Regions from separate parts of the Homo sapiens genome. Here regions 2 and 3 are each linked to region 1. Evidence: promoter capture Hi-C in human tissues and cell types (Jung and others, 2019). All regions are on one chromosome and are shown on one strand. Each heading gives the region's core, a stretch centred on a gene start or on the middle of the fragment in contact. The rest is flanking DNA. Distances are from core to core; before and after follow the strand shown.

Region 1 (4,089 bases), core at 1,492-3,991:
ATTTTAATTAATTTCATTGACATAGCCACATGGCTAGTGACTATTGTATTGGACAACACAGTTACAGCCTCTGGGGGTTTATTGTTACCTTTTTAAAAACAAAGCTCTGTATTCATCAGCAGCACAAACTTAATAAGGACAAGTGTGAGTGAATGGTTCAGAAATACATTATTGAAGCTAAAAATACAGATGATCCTTGACTTCCAATGAGGCTTATGCTCTGATAAACTCATCAAAAGTTGAGAACATCATAGGTTGAAAATGCATTTAATACACTTAAACTACCAAGCATCACAGCCTAGCCTAGCCTACCTTAAACATGCTCAAAACACTTACATTAGCCGGCAGTTGGGGAAAATTATCTAACACAAAGCTATTTTATAGTAAAGTGTTGACTATCTCATGAAACTTATTCAATACTAACCTGACAGTGAAAAATAGAATGATTGTATGGTCCATAGTCAAAATACAGTTTCTACTGAATGTATATGGCTTTTGCACCATGGTAAAGTCTAAAAATATAAGTAGAAGCATCATAAGTTGGAGATCATCTGTATTTTAAAAAGAAGTCCCATATTCTACACTGGGAGAGCTTTTAGTTCACCCTTCCCCCACCCTGTTAAAATTTGATTCAAAAGAATTCCGTGGAATATATAGGGTAACATGAAGTCATTTCTAAACAAAGAACATTTACAAAAGATGTGGATGATGTCTTAAACCTCATTGTAATCCAACTATCCCAAGTAATCAGCACCGGTAAGCACTAGTCCCTCTATTGAAAATTGAAATTCCAATTACTGATTTTCCAAAAGAAGACATTCTCCTCCACTTACGAAATGGAACAATGAAAGAGGATTTTCTGTTTGGGGTGACCGGGGAGAAACGGAGTCTTCACACAAAGTCTTAGTTCATATTCAGCCCTCCTTTCCTTGAAACCACATCCCCAGGATTTATCTGGCTTGTTTGTGAAAATATGGGAAAACATTTTAAGTCGAAGAAACTGATCAGATGACTTAATTACATTTCTGCTTAGTTCAGCCTGTAACTTAGACTGTTAGAGAGAGAGAACTTAAGTAGCCCTTGGTTTGAACCATCTGTCGCGAAAATGTGACATATGTTTGCTTTGTTTACTCAACAACCAAGTGTAAACTGATACACTGAACTAGAGTATCCCTGAATGATGTGGCTATGGGTGTGTGTGTGTTGGAGGAGGGGTGTCTGATGAGGGCGTCCGTCTCCTCATACTTACCCTGGAGGAACACGCGTACAGCACAAGAGAAGTGCGGATCCGTAGGATGTCCCCCGGGTTTGGGGCGCGCCCCGAGGCGCAGACCCTCTTTGGCGACTCCACACAATATGCAGCCCGCCTGCAAGCAGCCGCTGCAGCCGAGGGGCGCGCCTGGCTGATGTGTGGTTGAATGGAGAGCGGCCCAACCCTCCTCCTTCCTCCTCTTCTTCTCCCCGCCCTGACACCCGGGCCTCAAACTTCAACCAAAGCCCGTGCCCTTTTCAATTTACCCCCCTCGATCAAAATGAGCCATTCTTGTCTGTCCTCCGCGGCGGCCCATTGTCTGGCGTGATAGGTTTGCAGATTTGACAGCTGGGCGCACGCAGATTTGATTCAAACTCGGTCTCCCCGAGAGATGAACTTGGACATCAGCAAAGATCCCGAGCACTGCCGGCTGGCTCCTAGACCGGTCTCCCGACCCAGTGTAGACTTCGGTGCCCCGGGCGCCCCCCGGCGTGCGGGAAGGGGAGCGTGTGTCAGGCGTGGGGGGCGGGGGGTGAGCAGCACGACTGGGAACCAGCGGTCCCAGGGGTTGGGGCGAAGGGCTGTGTACATGTTAGGCTTTTTTTGTTGTTGTTAATTTACTCTCGAAACAGCCAAAATGGAGGTCAGCTTATAAATTTTCTAAAGCCAGGTCTGGCCGGGTTTAAATGCAGTGGGCTGGGGGCTCCGCTTTTGTCTCCTTGTCGGAGCTCCAGGAGAGAGGTAGAGACTGCGTGTGCATGTGTGCGTGTGAGTGTGAGTGTGCACGCGCTGGCGTGGACGAACGGATGGGCGCATCCCAGGATCGCCGCTCCAGCGTCCTGGGTCTGAGTGTGTCTTGAAAGCACCAAGTCTTGAATCACAGCCACTAGTGACGTGGGGGAAAACTTTGTGTTCCGAAGAAGGGTCTGGCTCGATTGCCCTAAGAAGAAAGAGCCCTTGTGCCCGTGTATGTGTGTGTGTGTGTCTGTGTGTGTGTGTGAGAGAGAGAGAGAGAGAGAGAGACAGAGAGAGAGAGAGAGAGAGAGAGTGTGTGTGTCTGGCAGCACCCGCGGCCGGCTGCAGAACACTGCGTGTCCTGTGCGCGAGTACGGGTCCGGCCGCGGGTCCCACCGCAAGCGGGCGTGTGCAGCTGCGGCTGCCTGGCGGGCGAGCTTAGGAGGGAGCTGGAGCTGCGGAGCGGCGGGAACAGGAGCAGGCCGAGGGTCCTCTGGCCAGAAGAAATCTGGCCTCGGAACACGCCATTCTCCGCGCCGCTTCCAATAACCACTAACATCCCTAACGAGCATCCGAGCCGAGGGCTCTGCTCGGAAATCGTCCTGGCCCAACTCGGCCCTTCGAGCTCTCGAAGATTACCGCATCTATTTTTTTTTCTTTTTTTTCTTTTCCTAGCGCAGATAAAGTGAGCCCGGAAAGGGAAGGAGGGGGCGGGGACACCATTGCCCTGAAAGAATAAATAAGTAAATAAACAAACTGGCTCCTCGCCGCAGCTGGACGCGGTCGGTTGAGTCCAGGTTGGTGGCATTTGGAGTTTTTTTCGTTCTGTTTGGGAACCCATTGCCGCTTCCCGTCCCTCTTCCCCACTCCTTCTTCCCCCCTCCTCCGGCCACCCCTTTCTTTTTGCTGGCGTCTCCCAACTTTAGGGCCCGGGGGGCGCTCGTGGCGCCGGGCTGCACCTGCCGGGGCACGCCGGGACTGCGGGCCGGCGCGCTCGCCCTGGGCTGGGGTGCGGAAGCGCCCGAGTCCTGGGCACCGGGCGAGAGTGTGAGAGGAGCGGACGCCCAGGAGGGAGCCGAGGACGCGCGGCGGGTAGGGGGTAGGGGCGCAGGAACCGGGTTTCAGCCCCAGTCGGGACATCGGTTCCCCCTGGCTTGGCGGCCTCTGGAGGGAGACGAGTCCCGGGGAGAAGGAGGGCGGCGACTGGGGCTAGGGATTGGCGATCGGAGTGGGGAGGGCCGGCGGCTGAGCGAGCTCGCTGGCTGACGCGAGGAGGGGGAGGCCAACTTCCCGGGAGAAGGGGCTCTTTCGGCGCCAGGGCTGGCTAGGGAGCTGCCGCCGCCGCCACCGAGGGCTCGGACTCCAGGCAGCTGCAGGCTCCGCTCGCGACGCTCGGAAAGTACCGTTTATTTATTTATTTGCTTGCGTTCAGCGTCTCGGGTTGAACCCAACAGACACCCCCTTGGACTTTAGGAACCCTCTTCAGACCTCTCCAGCCCTCACCTCCATCCCCGTGTCAGCGGCCCCTGGAAAACACGCACATGCACCCCGACCTGGGTGGGGGTGGGTCCTCACCCCGGTGTTGGAAATTCCCCAAAGGCGGGAACGGGGGAGGGGAGAGGGTTCTGTGGGGGGAGTCTCCGGCGCTCTCCGCTCTCATCTCAAAGCGCGCCCTCCCTTCCAGGTTGGGTCGGACCTGAACCCCTAAAAGCGGAACCGCCTCCCGCCCTCGCCATCCCGGAGCTGAGTCGCCGGCGGCGGTGGCTGCTGCCAGACCCGGAGTTTCCTCTTTCACTGGATGGAGCTGAACTTTGGGCGGCCAGAGCAGCACAGCTGTCCGGGGATCGCTGCACGCTGAGCTCCCTCGGCAAGACCCAGCGGCGGCTCGGGATTTTTTTGGGGGGGCGGGGACCAGCCCCGCGCCGGCACCATGTTCCTGGCGACCCTGTACTTCGCGCTGCCGCTCTTGGGTAAGTCGAGGCCCGCCGCGGGCTTTCTTACCCTCTGAGTCTTTCCTAGGGTCGCTTGCAGCAGCCCACCCCGCCCTCCGCACCAAAATTGGGGCGCGGGTGTGGTGGATGTGGAAGGAAGAAGTGTCTTTT
Region 2 (3,973 bases), core at 745-3,244, 35 kb before region 1:
AGCAGTATTACTGATTTTTCACATTTAGCATGTGGAAAGAATTCTATAGTTCCTAGAGTCCATATTTTTTCTTTTTGTTCTTTCCTTCTATACCAAATTTCTAATGAAAGATGTTTTATCTCACAGTTTACTGATGTCTATTTTCTTCATTTTATAAATGAAGAAATTGACACCTGGACAGCCGCCTGCATGATTTCCCCAAGGCTTCATGGTGAATCTGAACCTAAATCCTTCACTCTTTTTCCCCAGCTTTATTGGCATATATTAGACAAATAAAAATTGTATATATTTAAGGTGAATTATGTTCACATTTGATAATGTGATGTGATTACCACAATCAAGCTTATTGACATATCCATCACTTTCCATAGGCACCTTTTGCATATGTGTGGTCTGAACACTTAAGATCTACCCTCAAAGCAAATATTAAGTATGTAATACAGTGTTATTAACTATAGTCACTATGCTGCACATTAGATCTCCCGAATTTATTCATCCTGCACAACTGAAATTGTGTACCCTTTGACTATCATCTTCCATTTCTGAAATGCCCAGCCAACTGGCAACTACCATTCTATTGTGTTTTTATGATTTTGACTTTTTTAGATTCCATATATAAGTAAGATCATGTGTTATTTGTTTTTCTACCTTTGGCTTATTTCACTTAACATAATGTCCTTCAGATTCGTGCATATTGACACAAATGGTAAGATTTCCTCCTTTTTAAGACTGAATAATATTCCATTTGTGTATATTCTTTACCCATTCATCCGTTGATGGACACTTAGGTTGTTTTCATGTCTTGAATATTGTGAATAATACTGCAAAGAACATATTGTAAATCGGTACAGACATTATGGAAAACAGCATGGATGGATCCTCAAAAAATTAAAAATAGGACTACCATATGATCCAGCAATTCCACTTCTGGGTATATATCCAAAGGAAATGAGATCAGTATCTTCCAGCAATACTTGCACTCCTTGTACTCTTTTTAATATGCATTCCAGCTCTCTTTTTGACTTGGAAATTCATCTCCTTTATCTTATCTTTTTTACATCAGACTTAACTCCAGAATTTTATGCTACCTGGATTAGAAACACCTCCCTCAAAAAGAGAAATTCCTGCCACCTACATTTTCTCAAATATAGACCTTGAATTTAAAACTTCAGTTCTACAAAGAATTTCAGCAACCACTCCACTTAAGACAATTTATCTTCCAAACAGTATAAGATAACAAAATGTTATAAAGAGGCTGCTCTTATTTTGAGGCATTACAATTCAAACAACAAATTAGGAAATCAACAGGATCATTCAGTCCTACAATCACTGTGACAGTTGTATTTGTCAACAACTAGTTTTCAGAAGAAATAGAACTCAAAGAAAATGCATATCTTCCAAATTCCAACAAAGAGATATGTAGAAATACTTTTTAAGACTATCAATAGTTTATTTATAATGAAAAATTAATTCACAGGTGAAGTCTTTTCACAGAAAGACAATGCTTTGAACAAATGTAGCATAAAGATGTTTCAAAATAGAACTGCAGCATCTGAAGATACTAATAATATATGTAATGTTGCTTGATGTCATTAGCAAGCAACTCAAACTCTTCAGCTACCGTAAAATACAAACCACAATCAGCACATTCTCAGGAGCAGTAGATCTGTCTGACCTGACTTCTGCTCTGCAGTTAACAATTTTGTTTTAATTCATAAAAAAGAAATTCTTATCACCTCTAAATTGTGCAACTGGGTTCCCAAAAGATCACACTTAAGTCCAATTTCCACGTTCCATGTTGTTCTATGTCTACATCAATCTCTACGGCTTGGAAAATGTTAAATCACTGACAAGCCATAATTAACTCGTTATCAGTGAAGACAACCCCACGATCTTCCAGTGAAGGATGTAAAATTCTAAGAAATCCCCTTCCCAAAGAGTATTTTATTGAATAACTGTGGTTCTTTACCACCCTGTTATGAAAAATGTGCCAGGCTAAAATATCTGAACTTCAGAAAAATTACATAAAGAAAGATTTTCCTAGATGTGGCTTAAAGAACGCCTAATATTCCTCAAGATTTTCATATTTTCTTTAAAAACAAAAACAGTGATTCCGTGTGAAAACAAGTTGGGAAACTGCATTCTTTAGTCCCCCTGGGGACTCACAAAGCACATTGGTTTATTAAAGGTTCTGAGACATCCTGCAATAAAGAAACCTGATTCATTCCATTTAATACGATCTTCCCAAATTTATTTGGCCACAAAGCCCTTTATTTCATGAAGCATCCTTAACCATGTTTGGATCAATGATGTTCTGCAAAATACGATTTGTTTTTCAAACCCTGGTCTGGATTTCTGTTTAGGCTGCTACTGAGGCCTTGGTCACAGGCCATTTAGCTTCCCTCTGGCCAAAAGTTCCAAAATGTGGGATTCAGGTCTAGGCTAGCATTCTGCTAAACTGTTGGCCATCATAGGGGCAGACCATGAGTGCGTGTCACTATTTTACAAATCAGGAAACTGAAGTTCTAATTTGCTCAAACGCAGAAGTGACAGAACTGGCTCTAGACTCAAAAGCCCCCACTTTATAATGGGCCTTTTCTGAAATGAGAAGCCTAAAAATATATAGCATCTTTGTCCATTTAGAAAAATTCCCTCAATTTCACGATTTTAAGGAAGATGAGAACTCAGTGTAATCATAGCCAAAGACTATTGTAATGTCACATGGAAAATTGACCTAAGAAACCAGTATTTAACTATGAATAGAAATCACGGGTTTTACCCATTGTGCATAGTCATCCTTACTTGATTTTGTAAAATTGAACATATCTTTTATGATTTTCCAGCCAAATATTTTTCCTCAAATTTCATTGTGAATACAAATCATAATGTGACTCATTCTATTATTCCAACTTCATGCTGCTCTTTTTCTAAACTATAACTTCCTTTATGCTTAATGTTCATTTGGAATGATAGATAAATAGAAGGATCCATATTTTGCAACCATTCAGATGTTTCAGTAACTCATAGTCAACACATCCCTTTAGTGTACATATCCAGCAAAGAGTGAATTTAAATGGCAGGTATGTGAACAAAGTCATGGGGAATTCTGCCCACAGTGTATACAGTCCTAAGTGCTTCCTTCCAAGTATTTATTTTAATTTTATATCTCTAATCATGCATACCTTATTCCTTGTACAGTAAATGAGATAAATTATGAATATTTTGGAAGAATTTGCTATAAAAATAAGGTACGAGAACGTTTATTTACTAGGCAGCTTACGGAAAATTGTCATGACTCCTGTTTCTACCTAAATTCATATGTTAGCTCATTTGTAATAAATAAATTCCAAGTCAAAAGCCCAATGGGCAAATATAGTTTAAGGACATGCAACACTGAATTATGTACTTACTTCTTATGTGCAACATAAAGGGAATGTTCATACTTATTTTTGAACTATAGACACCACCACTGTTACCCACACTACAGTTCAGCAGGAAGCTTAGACTTCCTTCTACTTATAAAGAGAATACAAAACTCAAGGCCAATGTCAAACATTAGCTAATTCTCAAACTTAATGCCCATAAGATGATGTGTTATATCTGAGGTATATTTTCAGATACCAGAAGTTTTGCCATGGGGTAGGGAAAAGGTCTGTATCATGGCCTTTTGGACCAAGTGTTAACATCATATTAGGACTCCTTCCTTTTCTCTTAACAATCAAACTCTTGTACTGCCAAATGGCCAAGGTTTTCAGGGAAGGGAGACCAATGCCTCCCCCGCTTTTATTCTCTGTAAATAACAGGAGGGTCAAAAGCACTGGCAGTCATTCCTTGGACCTTGGATGGTATCCAACATGGATCAATGTCATAATAACAGTCTCCAAATCATGTTAATATCAACATTTTGGTGAAGGAACAAAGATGGTGAAGATGGGATCAATGGTATCCGATTACAATCTTGAGATAACGTCTG
Region 3 (3,818 bases), core at 215-2,714, 52 kb after region 1:
ATGTGTCAGGCGCTGTGTGAAGTCTTTATTAGCTTGATTTCCTGTAATCTTCACAACAGCCCCATATCACTGTTGCCCCACTCAATCAAACGGAGATGTTGAGGCTTAGAGCAGAAAGATTGCTTTCCCAGTGGCAGAGCCAGGATCAAAATGCAATCCATGACTGGGAACGGTGGTTCACGCCTGTAATCCCAGCACTTTGGGAGCCTGAAGGGGGCGGATCACCTGAGGTCAGGAGTTCCTGACCAGCCTGGCCAGCATGGCAAAATCCCCTCTCTACTAAAAATACAAAAATTAGCCAGGTGTGGTGGCGGGCACCTGTAATCTCAGCTACTTTGGAGGCTGAGGCAGGAGAATAGCTTGAACCTAGAAGACGGAGGTTGCAGTGAGCCGAGATCACGCTGCTGCACTCCAGCCTGGGCGACAGGGCAAGACTTTATCTCCAAAATAAATAAATAAATAAATAAAGAAGAAAAGAAAGCCCTCTGGCTGCTGCACCCATATGTGCATTGCCTGCACTGCATTACCTCCCACCTGGCTCTTTCCCCTTCTACCGCCTCTCATACCATCCTTTTCATAAACCCAAGTAGGATGGCCCTGGATCAGGGCAGCTGCATAGATCTTTGCAGCTCAGTCATATTTCCTTGTATTGTATTGTTCTCCCCTTCCTTACTCTCTTCTTGGAATTCTCATTTTTTAATCCAGCAGGACGTCCTTTCCCCATGTCCTTACCTTACCTTAACAATTGCCATAAACCTATTGAAACAGTTGCAATATTTTAGAAAGAGAATTTGTAAAGTTTTAAAAAAGTTAATGTGTATCTAGGCAGTCTCTGCAATTGGACCCAAAATCCACAGATAGAAAAGTTACAGAAAAAAATGTGGCTGGGGATCTAGAAACATGGGGATTATTATATTAAAAGTATTATGAACACAGACCAGGTGCGGTGATTCACGCCTGTAATCCCAGCACTTTGAGAGGCCAGGGTGGGCAGATCACCTGAGGTCAGGAGTTTGAGACCAGCCTGGCCAACACAGTGAAACCACATCTCTGCTAAAATCACAAAAATTAGCTGGCCGTGGTGGCACCTGCCTGTAATGCCAGCTACTTGGGAGGCTGAGACATGAGAATTGCTTGAACCTGGGAGAGAGAGGTTGCAGTGAGCCGAGATCGCACCCCTGCACTCCAGCCTAGGCAACAGAGTGAGACTCTGTCTTTAAAAAAAGGTAGTATGAACGTGAATTCTCTTCTCTCTCTGGGGTGTCTTAGAAGGGACGAGGCATATTTATTTGTTCCTTCTTCCTTCCACACGTCTATCAATGGTGTATTCATTGAGAGACAGTGTAGCAAAGTGGTTAAGAGTTTGGATTCTGAAGCCAGACTGCTTGGGTTGAATTCCAGCTCACTTGCTTCCCTTTGACCTTTGGCAGCTTTAGTTAACCTTTGTGGGCCTGTGTTTCTTTATCTGTAAAATGAAGATAATGAGAATAGCTACCTTTTAGGGTGACTGAGAGGATTCAGGCAGTCTATGTAAAGTATTTAAAATAGTGCCTGATGTACAGAAAACTCTGAAAGCATATTAGTTATTATTAATATTAATAAGTATCTTTTATGCTCTAATATTCTGCCCTGGGCTTTGGGACTACAGTGGACAGAATGTCCCTGACATCATGGTCCTTTCAGCTTAGTTAGAGAGAAAGAGAGAGAAAGAAAATAACAGGTGTATGTTAGGGCACCAAGGAGATGTACAGTTGATTTGGGAGCATATAGCAGGGAGTTCTAATGAAAGGTCCTGGTAGTGTTCATTATAGTTTTAGAACTGGAAAAGATTGCAGCTATTTTCTTGTCAATCGCTCCTTTGAAACCCAAAGTGCTTAAATGATTTGTTTAAGTTCCTTCAGGTGATTTATAGCAGAGCCAGGCCAGAACCTGTACCTCCTAAAACTGAGGTCAAGCTAGAGTGTATTACATCATCAAAGCTCCTCCTAGAAGCCTTGGGCCCATTTCATGATGATCAACAATGCTTGATTTTAGAACAGCTTCTTAGAATTCAAGCTTGAATTGTCTCTGACTCCTGGGAGCTGTCCTGATGGTTATTTGTGGCAAGCATCAAGTAATGATCATTATCATTGTCTTCTGTTTACTTTGAAGTTGTCCATCCTGATAATGATCACCTGGTAAAGAGAGAGATTTATTCTGCTGGACATTTGTAAACATCCAGTTTGAATTTTGGAAACTGGGTAACCAACCTGATTAAAACCTGGATCACACAGAGCTGGCTGAGGAATACATGTGTGATAAAATGTATCATTTGACTTGGAAATGGAGATGAAAAAGCATCTTTCAGGAAGTGTATGTTGGGTGGGTGCGTTGGGGGATTAAAACTTGATTCAAAAAGGTAATAGAAACTTAAAGATTTCAGATGGCTTATAATTTATCTGTAATGGGAAAAATACTTTAAAACTGAGATAATATCTTGGAATAAATTTGAAATCACAGGCTGTATTATGGATGTGTTTGTGGATGTATGTGAATTGCAAAGAATGAAATTTTTTTGTGAATGTAATTTAGCATGCATAAGATTACAAATAAGCTATGTGCAGTAAGAGTCCATTTGATACAATGTGTGTAATTTTAAACTTAAAAACATCGTGCTTTAGAACTGGAAGGGACCTTAGAGATCATCTAGTAGAAATCATTTTGCAAATGGAAGAACGGAATCCCAGGGAAGGTGAATGGCTTTGCCTGCACTGCAAACTAGAATCCAGATGTTTAGACAACTGTGTTTGGAGACTTTTTAAAATGTAAAGCTTGATATCCAGGGGCTCACTTTTAGTATTTTACCAGTAGTAGTGTTACGTCATTGCTAATCACAGCTATAACGTAATTTCTTCTGGAAGATGGACCATCTCTTCAGCCCTTTGCATATATGGATGCTTAATACAAATACTTTTTGTGACTCCTAATTAATACTCCAATTAATATCCAATGATAGAAGTTTAGGAAAATTAAAGCAATGTTACTTGTCAGCTTCTTTTGTTTAGGCTCTTAATGTGGCTTCTTCTGATTTCTCAGCTGATTCAAAAGAATTCCGAGAAGGTCATGTATGCGGCTCTTTTCAAAGGAAAACACTGGTTGCTAGAGGGATCGATTTTAATATAGTTTCATATCATAGAGATTTTAATAATGCAATCTAAAATATTTGTACATGAATTCATTAAGCCCAGATTAGTCTTATTATAATTACTCAAAAAGTAATTCAATTTAAGAGAAAACATTTTAAATGGATATAAAATACACTGTGAGCTGGGAAGCCATACTGTTCTACTTTATCAGCTCTATAAAGTACTAGCAGACTCGGACATAACTTTCATAGTATACAGAATGCAATCATAAAAAGTATTATTCCTAAATCTATTTTTTTATGTTCTTTCAGTAGTTAAGAGCTTTATCCCTCTGTGCTAGGAATGAGATATACTAGGGATAGGATGTCATAAAAATGATAGGGGCTCACCAGCTCATGTCTCTTGCATTGCTTTTCCAAGTCAGCGCAGGCCGATGGGTTATAAGCACACAGCCCAAGATTGATGTTGGTAGCACATTCCCTAGTAAATGTAGCAGGAAGATTCTTTGAGGCTTTTTTTTTTATTTTTTTCTTATCCACAAATAAAAGACATTTAGTGAGCACTGTGTGCCTTCAGAGGTACAACAGTGACAGGCAAAGTATTGGTCTTCATTTCTAATATGATAAAAGGTGAAGGGAGGCCAGCAGCAATGAAAACGAGAGAACTTTCTCCGGCCTACATCCAAACCCAGGT

Evidence for each region. Contacts are between HindIII fragments. The study calls those that stand out against the background at their distance.
Region 2: a fragment that was not itself captured here is called in contact with the fragment with the promoter of GFRA1 in region 1 in 2 of the 25 tissues and cell types used here (mesendoderm cells and spleen).
Region 3: a fragment that was not itself captured here is called in contact with the fragment with the promoter of GFRA1 in region 1 in 3 of the 25 tissues and cell types used here (H1 embryonic stem cells, liver and neural progenitor cells).

What each region holds. Positions count from the first base shown.
Region 1 is chr10:116,271,858-116,275,946 of GRCh38, reverse strand. GFRA1 (GDNF family receptor alpha 1) reads left to right here and starts at 2,741. Exons shown (of 11, transcript NM_005264.8): 1 at 2,741-2,784; 2 at 3,672-3,957. The coding sequence starts at 3,918. LOC107984273 (a long non-coding RNA gene) reads right to left here and starts at 1,938. Exons shown (of 2, transcript XR_001747598.2): 1 at 1-1,938. RefSeq lists a silencer at 2,236-2,530 and an enhancer at 1,739-2,576. The HindIII fragment of the contact is 12,805 bases long and covers 1-4,089 here.
Region 2 is chr10:116,305,840-116,309,812 of GRCh38, reverse strand. No RefSeq gene overlaps it. Among named protein-coding and RNA genes, the nearest start is that of CCDC172, 17 kb to the left of the region's middle. The HindIII fragment of the contact is 4,206 bases long and covers 1-3,973 here.
Region 3 is chr10:116,218,842-116,222,659 of GRCh38, reverse strand. All of the region lies in intron 4 of GFRA1 (GDNF family receptor alpha 1), which reads left to right. Among named protein-coding and RNA genes, the nearest start is that of SNORD158, 26 kb to the right of the region's middle. The HindIII fragment of the contact is 5,209 bases long and covers 1-3,818 here.